Regions from separate parts of the Homo sapiens genome. Here region 2 is linked to region 1. The links are contacts of gene promoters, found by promoter capture Hi-C in blood cells and fetal thymus (Javierre and others, 2016). All regions are on one chromosome and are shown on one strand. The core of a region is centred on a gene start or on the middle of the fragment in contact, and the rest is flanking DNA. Distances in the headings are between cores, read along the strand shown. Region 1 holds the start of C9orf153 (chromosome 9 open reading frame 153). Region 2 overlaps AGTPBP1 (ATP/GTP binding carboxypeptidase 1).

The links. Contacts are between HindIII fragments. The CHiCAGO score rates a contact against its expected background, and 5 or more counts as called.
Region 2: a fragment that was not itself captured here is called in contact with the fragment with the promoter of C9orf153 in region 1 in 1 of 17 cell types (total CD8 T cells); the score reaches 6.4 in total CD8 T cells.

What each region holds. Positions count from the first base shown.
Region 1 is chr9:86,258,407-86,262,936 of GRCh38, forward strand. C9orf153 (chromosome 9 open reading frame 153) reads right to left here and starts at 1,251. Exons shown (of 4, transcript NM_001276366.4): 1 at 1,144-1,251. It also overlaps the pseudogene RN7SKP264. The HindIII fragment of the contact is 3,437 bases long and covers 1-2,049 here.
Region 2 is chr9:85,654,636-85,659,202 of GRCh38, forward strand. It overlaps AGTPBP1 (ATP/GTP binding carboxypeptidase 1), which reads right to left. Exons shown (of 26, transcript NM_001330701.2): 10 at 2,800-3,008; 11 at 508-685. Among named protein-coding and RNA genes, the nearest start is that of AGTPBP1, 85 kb to the right of the region's middle. The HindIII fragment of the contact is 3,037 bases long and covers 268-3,304 here.

The sequences.
Region 1 (4,530 bases), core at 1-2,500:
TTGAAGTAATTACTTTTAGAGAGCTTGTTTGGAGGTTCTAGCAGGGGAGTGCAGCTACTCATATACCCTTGCCCAAAGAACGGCCCTCCTCTGTTGGGGAAGGTTGTCCGCAGCGTCTGGAAGGACGCATGTGGACGGATGAGGGAGGAAGGAGACATCCACCTAGCCAGCCAGATCAGACAAATTAACCCTGGCCATCAGTGGGGTGACAGATGTTGCAGCCAGATCACCCTCACATCCGGAAATAATTGCTTTTAAAACGCAATATTTGAAAACCTGAATTTTCTTGGGTAAGCAACTATTATATTGCTAATTTAACGAAACTTTTTTTAAAAATATTAATATACTTAAATTTTAGAGCAATTTTAGAATTGGTTAGAAAGTACAATGTTCCCACAACCCCCCTTCTCTGCACCATACACACAGCTTTCCCCTTTTTTTTTTACTACTTATGTTTGTGTGGTACGTTTGTTATACTTGATGAGCCGGTATCAATGCATGGTTACTAACTAAAGCCCATACTTCACAGTTTACATTACGGTCCATTCTTGGTGTTGTGCATTCTATGAGATTTCACAATGTGCAATTACATATATCCACTTTGATAGTATCATACAGAGCAGTGTTTTTTTTTTTTCTTTGAGATAGGCTCTCATTCTGTCACCCCAGCTGGAGTGCAGTGGCGTGAACACAGGTCACTGCAGCCTCAACCTCCCAGGCTCAGGTGATCCTCCCATCAGCCTCCCAAGTGGCAGAGGAAAAACAAAGGACACTGGGTGTGAGGGAGAGGTGCAAAGTCAGGACCAAGCATCCATGGGAACACAGGGGAGGATGAAGGCACTGAGGTTGGGGAGAGAGAGCAGAGCTATCAGTGTTGAAGGCCGGAAAGGATGAGGGAGTCTGCAGGCTCGGCCCGATCAACTGGTTCCAGCTTCTGTGACCTGCCTGGAGGAAGATGAAACAGGCTCCTCATCCTTATTGGTAAAGATAAACCCAAATCCCATCTCACCTCCCAGCTCTGGTCTTCCCACCTTAGCCACTGCCCACCTCACTCCATCTCTCCTTGCCAAGCCTAGACTGGCTTAGTTTTCACTGCTCTGTGGTCTCACAGTGCCCCGTGGCTATGGCTGTAGATGCACTTACCACTTGTTTTACAGTTGTCTCTTCACGTGGTCATATCTGTCTTGAGTCTCTGCACTCCCAGGGCAGAGGCTGGGTCTCATTCATCCAGCAGCCCCAAGGCCCAGCCCCACTCCTAGCATGTGTCATTGCTTAGTGTTAAGTGACTGTCCATTGTGACATGTGGACATTCTCAAGGTCACATAAGCAGCTATATGATGCTAAGCGATGGGGAATTATCTTGCTGCTTGGTGGGGGGTGGGAGACGGTGGAGGATGATGGAAAAGCATTTTTAAAGAGTGAACATTGAGTAGCTGAGTAGCTACTTTTTTTTCTGCCTCAGCTTGTGGCTGGGACCCCGGGCGCACGCCACCACGCCTGGCTAATTTATGTATTTTTCTCTAGAGATGGGGTTTCGCCATGTTGCCCAGGCTGGCGTGAGTATAATTTTTTTTTTTTTTTGAGATGGAGTCTCACTCTGTCGCCCAGGCTGGAGTGCAGTGGCACGATCTCAGCTCACTGCAAGCTCCGCCTCCCGGGTTCACGCCATTCTCCTGCCTCAGCCTCTTGAGTAGCTGGGACTACAGGTGCCGTGAATGTAATTTTTAATCAGTCAAGTTTTTCCTTCTATAGACATGGGCAAAGTGCAAATAAGAAATTGAGAGAGATAATAGAAGGTACAGCTATGCTCTTTGCACCTGGCCAGATATGGGTAGAAGTGGACCAGGGGCTACCTGGCTGTGCAAATTCTCTCCATGAGCCATGCAGCCGTGCTCCAGACTCCATTCCCCACCCATGGGAGGTCCCTGTGGCAATCACTGAAAATTTTCCTGAAACAGCCATTTCCCCAGAATGCAATCTACTGGGCATTTAAATAGTCTGATTGAGTTAATAACTTGTGAACACCGTGGCAACATATCCATAACATGAAGCTTACCGTGTTAAGCCGTTTTAGGTACACAGTTCTGTGGCATTCAGTACATTCACATTGTTGTGCCACCTGCACTGCCTTCCATCTCCAGAGCTTTTTCATCTTTTCCACCTGAATCTGTGTCCATGAAATAAATTTCTCACCCCCTGTCCCCTGTCAATGGACACCTGGGTTGTTCCTACCTTTTGGCTATTGTGAATAATGCTGTTATGAACATGGATATACAAGAAAGTTAATAATTTTAAGCAGAATTTAATAAATACAGAAGATTCTTCCAATGAGAAAATATTTCAAAAGCCTGCCATTCAAAGGTGTTCTGCAGAGCAACAGCACTGGCTTCACTTGGGCCTTTGCTACTAATGCAGAATCTCAGGCTCTGCCCTGGACCTTTGTTACAGAATCTGCTTTTTTTTTTTTTTTGAGACAGTTTTGCTCTGTCACCCAGGCTGGAATGCAGTGGTGCCATCTCATGTCACTGCAACCTCCCCACCTCCCAGGTTCAAGTGATTCTCCTGCCTCAGCCTCCTGAGTAGCTGGGACTAGAGGCGCCCACCACTATGTCTGGCTAATTTTTGTGTATTTTTAGTAGAGATGGGGTTTCACCATGTTGGCCAGGCTGGTCTCGAACTCCTGACCTCAAGTGATCCACTCGCCTCAGCCTCCCAAAGTGCTGGATTACAGGCGTGAGCTACCTACTGCGCCCGGCCAAGAATCTGCTTTTTAACAAGACCCCCAGGTGACTTATTTGCACCTTAAAGTTTGAGGACTGCTTCAAGACATAGAATCCATGGAGAACAAAAAATGAGTACTTTATTTTTTATTCTTTTTTTTTTTGAGACAGGGTCTTGCTCTGTCATCCAGGCTGGAGTGCAGTAGTACGATCTTGGCTCACTGCAACCTCTACCTCCTGGGCTAAAGTGATCCTCTCACCTTGGTCTCCTGAGCAACGGGGACTACAGGCATGTACCACCATGACCAGCTAATTTTTGTATTTTTTGTAGAGACGGCGTTTTACCACGTTGCCCAGGCTGGTCTTGAACTCCTGGGATCAGGTGATCTGCCCACTTTTGCCTCCCAAAGTGCTGGGATTACAGGCTTGAGCCAACACACCTGGCCCAATAAATGGGCACTTCATCATGAAAAGTTTCGGAATCACTAGCTAGTGGAAGTAAAAGCAGTAACCCATCAAGGCCCTCAAAGTAGGCTAGTTTTAAGCTGAGTACCGCTGGTACAGAGCCCTTGCCCCGCTAAAGGTTGGTGTGAAATGAAGCCTTCCCTGAACACTGCACAGCAGCAAGGGAGGATGGGAGTCCACAGTGATGTAACCACCACATGGCTCTGTATTTCAATAGAGGCTGAGGCTAGGGTGCACCTCCCTCTCTCCTCCATCTCTTGTCTGATGAGACCCACCTGGGACCAGGAGATTGAGTTCCTACTGGGGAATGAGCTTTCAAAACAGCTCCTCAATTAAGGCAGGTTTGTCTATAGTTAATCAGCTACTAAGAGAATGAAATTTCTCCGAATGTTTATATTTGAAATTTATGGTTCTTTTCAAAGAAGTTACTGTGGTCTTTTATTTGAAGGAAATACAGCAAATTTCCCCCAGATTTGAATATGGGACAATAACTCCCTAAATGTGTTGAAACTCTTTCCCTAAGCTCTTGCTTTGATTGATAATCCATTAACATATTATCCCTTTTTGCACAAGAAAATGGCTAAAAGGGACAAGAATTACAACGTATGAAACGTCTACCCTTAGCAGGATGCCATTTATGTGTAGTTAGCTCATCACATCCCCCCAAATTCTGAGACTGTTTTACAGAAGGTTACATGGCTACAAAATGACAGGAACCATGATTCAAATCCAGGCATATCTCACCCCAAACCTACACCTTTCCAGGCCAGCCTCCCAGCCTGCACTGAGCTCAGGTGAGCTGTATTTGGGTTTATTCTGGGTCGATGCTGTGTCTGGCCCATGCCACGTCTGCTCTAAGGCTCAAATGAGACACTGATGTTGCTTACAGCTCAGCTTAGCACAGGCTTTTCCATTTCCTGATTTCTCAGGTATCAAAACATGACAAGAAAGGCCATTTTTTTTTTGAGGTATTTCCTGCTGAGTGAAACCTAGGAAATACTGGAAATCTTAGGGACATCTGATCTTGTAGGGATTGTTCCCAACCCTTTCCTGTTTGAGAAAAAAAAAATCATTCTGGTGGGTCCGGTGACAGAGGGCTGGGAGGCGCCCTGCAACAATGAAGCACAGCAGGCCTCTGTCCTCATGGCCTGATTCATTCAATTTAGCATCCTGATGTGGAAGAGTGGGCTTATAACTGATCATGAAAAGCCTGAAGTCTGCTGCTAAGCGACAGATCTGCTGGCCTACACATCACCCAGGGGCACTACCAAATCGCCTAACACAATGACCAGTGTTTGTGAGTAGAATGTGGATGAATGTGGTGCAACAGACAGAACCTTCCTGG
Region 2 (4,567 bases), core at 536-3,035, 600 kb before region 1:
AGTTTGAGAACAGACTGGCCAACATGGCGAAAACCCATCTCTACTAAAAATACAAAAATTACCCGGGAATGGTGGCACAGGCCTGTGATCCTGGCTACTCAGGAGGCTGAGGCAGGAGAATTGCTTGAACACGGGAGGCAGAGGTTGCAGTGAGCCGAGATTGCACCACTGCACTCCACCCTGGGCAACAGAGCAAGACTCTGTCTCAAAAAAAAAAATTAAAACAAAAAAAAAGTACATAAGCTATCAAATAATATTCCTATGTGAAGCTTAATTATTTCACAATTCACATTTGCATATATACAACACATCCCACACCATTTCACTTAATTATTAGCCTCCAATTTCTTACATTTAAAGAAATGCTTAACTAAAATAAAATGTGAATGTTTATCACGTTAAGTAAGGCCTTCCTTTGCTGAGGAGTTAGACATAAATAAAAAGAAAATCACAGGGTCACATAATTCTAAGAACCCACAAAAAGCAGCAGTGACCCTGTGATCCTACCTTCAGGAGGTAAGCTGTAGAGCTGAGCCACAGGACCAGTCACAGGAATAACAGGCAACTGGAAATGAAAAGAACTTTTAATTGTTGGGAGTGGCAGTCGATTTTTTGGGAAACACTTCCTCATTATCAGACTGGAGGTATTGACAAGAGGATCCAGAGTCCTGACTGCCAGACATTCCTGTTTTTTAAAAAAAGAAAAAGAAAAAGAATGTTTTTGATGAATAACTGAACCAATTTTACTTTAGTTCAAAAAGTGTCATACATTAATAATTTTCTAGAAACAAATATCTCAAAAACCAATATTTTAACACAGAATAATTACAAAATAGCTTTACTATTCAGAATTATCTATCTGTAAGTAAGAACCCCATGTGGCAAATTCAGAAGAACTTTTCCTTAAATATTTTCACTAAGCAGAAATCAGTACCATCTTTGGAGTGACTTGGGGGGACACTTGGCAAGCCTAGGGCATAAAATAAAAAAGATAATTTAAGGGAAAAGGGGGAAAAGGATTAAGCAAGAAAATTTAAAAGGTGTAAGAAATTAAAAAACAAAAAAAAAAACACGCATTTGACCAAACCTTCCTCAGAACTGTATCAGTTATCATGCAATAATACCTCTCATAAGTTGGCTATTCACCTTATAAAAGGATAGCCTGAATATCACAATATAAAGGTTTTTTTGTTTCTTTGTTTTTGGTTTTGAGATGGAATCTCGCTCTGTCACCCAGGCTGGAGTGAAGTAGAGCTATCTCGGCTCACTGCAAGCTCCGCCTCCTGGGTTCATACCATTCTCCTGCCTCAGCCTCCCGAGTAGCTGGGACTACAGGTGCCCGACACCACGCCCGGCTAATTTTTTGTATTTTTAGTAGAGACGAGGTTTCACCATGTTAGCCAGGATGGTCTCGATCTTCTGACCTCGTGATCCGCCCGCCTTGGCCTCCCAAAGTGCTGGGATTACAGGCATGAGCCACTGCGCCTGGCCCACAATATAAAGTTTTAAGAGTCTGACTTGCTGTCCTGGTATCTAATCTGGAGAAGGGTTAAGGGACATGGGATATGAAACCGTCATATAACAACAGTATTATTAGTGACATTTGACATTTAGATGGTACTATGATACACTGTAAAAGTTTCCATATACATTTTCACATCTGACCTGTCAAAACAAATGAGAAATTAAGGCTCAGAAATGTTAAGTGGCATAAACCAAGTGACCTAACTCTTTCTCATATATAAAATATCCATCAATGTCTATACTAGGAATAGTAAAAACAAGTACATATGATTGATCTAGAAAAGAAAAAACTAAGGTAAACATAAAATATGTGTTCAGATATCTCAACTCTTGTCATATAAAAATAGACTGTGTTTGTCATGTGTGAGACCAGGAGGGCACAATCAAGATAACTGGCTGATATTTTCAAAAAGACAGATTTCTTTCTAATAATTATAGCTTTCTTAAAAAAAAAAGAGAGGGGGTTGCATTGCAACATCCTCATTCCCCATGGCTGACAGTCAGCACAGCAACTAGAAAGGATCTCACTAAATACACTGTCAAAAATGTTTATGCTTAAAATGGCTGGCAGATATAGCATTCCCAGTTCCAGGTTTCATTTTTGTACCTTCTCTATTCAAAAAAGCCTCTATCCAGCAGGAAAACGTGCAGAATACTCACAGACAACAGAGCTGCTCTACAGGCTGTAAAGGATCCACAGATACCTCATGAGAGGAGCAAACAACACCGAGTACAGCCAACTACACATCCTAGAAAACATGGCTTTACGGAATCCCCTCTTGCTAAGTGGATGAATTTCTACTTCTTCCTTTTGCCTTAATGAGATCACATGGACACAGGAAGGGGAATATCACACTCTGGGGACTGTTGTGGGGTGGGGGGAGAGGGGAGGGATAGCATTGGGAGATATACCTAATGCTAGATGACGAGTTAGTGGGTGCAGTGCACCAGCATGGCACATGTATACATATGTAACTAACCTGCACAATGTGCACATGTACCCTAAAACTTAAAAGTATAATAATAAAAAAAAAATAATACAAAAAAAAAAAAAGAAAGAAAATTTCACATTGCAGAGCTGTGCACTGACCATTTCCTCCAACTCAGCCTGAGGTCACATGTGAGAAATAATTGTGTCTTTTACTTTTAAGATTTTCGAAAAATGCATTTATCCTGTGTATACGTTTCTGAGTATTTGCACACTAATTCAGTTTTCTTAACAACCAAATCATATTATTAGTACATAATCACAATAATAAGAAGAAAATAACTCACTTGCGAAGTATTATACAGAATTTTCATCCCATTGGCATCAATAAATGCTTTTCTTCCCAACTTGATGTTTGTAACACTTTTTAAACTCTGTAAAATTCCTTTCCGAATGAGCATGTTTCTATGCCGGTTATCATGGCGGTGCCAATCTACATAAATTGTTAAAAGCACTTGGACATATCCTCTGTCTACAGCTCTCCTGGCATTTGTTTCTTTAACAAAAGAAGATTGAGAAAGAATATTTTTTAAATGACGAGAGTGAGTGGTAGAATAATCAAATTTAAAATATTACCTCAATATTGTGATGGATACTTATAATTCTTTTTTCCAAAACAAATGACAAGCACATATTTATATTTTTTCTAACAAAATAAATATGAAGTTCCAGAGAGAAAATTACAACCTCTTCCAAAATCTGCCTGTGTAATGTTTCACGATTTATAAATATCAAAATCTCTTTACTAAAATTAGAGGAACATCTTTTTAAAGGCTTTTGTTTACTAACAAAAGCTTCAGGTATTTTACAATTTATGAATATACTGATTTTTGTTACACCAAATGAAATGTATAAGCTTTCTACTTGCTAGTTGTGAATGTGATTTTTAGAAGATCTGCTATCATTTTTATAATTTCTATTACAAACTTTATGTTCCCACTGAAATAAACCCTATTGAATTGTAGCTTCTATTGCAAACTTTGTGTTTCCACTAAAATTAATTGCTCTAATTACTCCACAATTATATAAATATTCATACTATAACAATGCTCATTAAAAAATACTTCCGTAACTTTTTTAGTAAATGAAATTTAAGGAGCATTACATGATTAGAAAATAGTGCTTTCTGGCTTTCTAGTCATTAGATTTTTATTGCAATAAGAACTACACTAAAGGTTTTTGTAAATACTCAATTTTATTGGAGTAGAATTAACAAATAAATCCATGTTTGACCTAATTTTATTATTTTTAAAAGTATTAGTATTTAAAATTATTAACCATAGGGCACATTTTACTAAGATAGTGGCAAGGGAATCATATCAGAGCAACATATCAAGTCACCCAATGCTGCTCTGGTGGGTTAATTATAAGGGGTGCAAGATAATGTGCAATACCCATCTGAGGTTGTTTAATTACAAGGAAATACTAATCTCTTCTTAATCTCAAATACACCTATAAAATACCCACCAGGTTCACAGTATGGACACTAAGATAATGCAGTAGTAAGCCTCCACTGATTTTAGCTGCCTGAATTATTACAGTTTCTAAATGTGCTAGTACAAACCTAAAACATAACACTGAGATAAACTTATTAATTCCCTTTCAGAACTATGTTCTGACATTAGACAGGCAGAAGACACTCACTAGAGCTACGGAAAAGATTTCTTATGTGAAGGCTTTAAACCCAGTATTGTGTCTACAATAGCTAGTGTGCTAAGGCTGTGGCTATTTACAAAATCACTTCCATTGTTTTGACCAAGAAAAGCTTCATACATTTTAAATGAATATACACTTTGTTTATACCAGTTGGAAATAAGCCTTTAGTTTACTAGCTGTGAATGTGATTTTGTTAAAAGCCATTATGATCATTCTAATTCCTATTACAAACCTTGTGTGTTTCCACCAAGATTCCCAATAGCCTAAATGGAATTTATGAGAAATATTAAAATTCTTCACAAATAAGTAAGAAACTTGCCCATAATTCAAACACAGGTGCTGAGTGCCCCTTAAAGGAAGTGAACAGAGCTACATGCAATCTGTGCTGAGCACAATTAA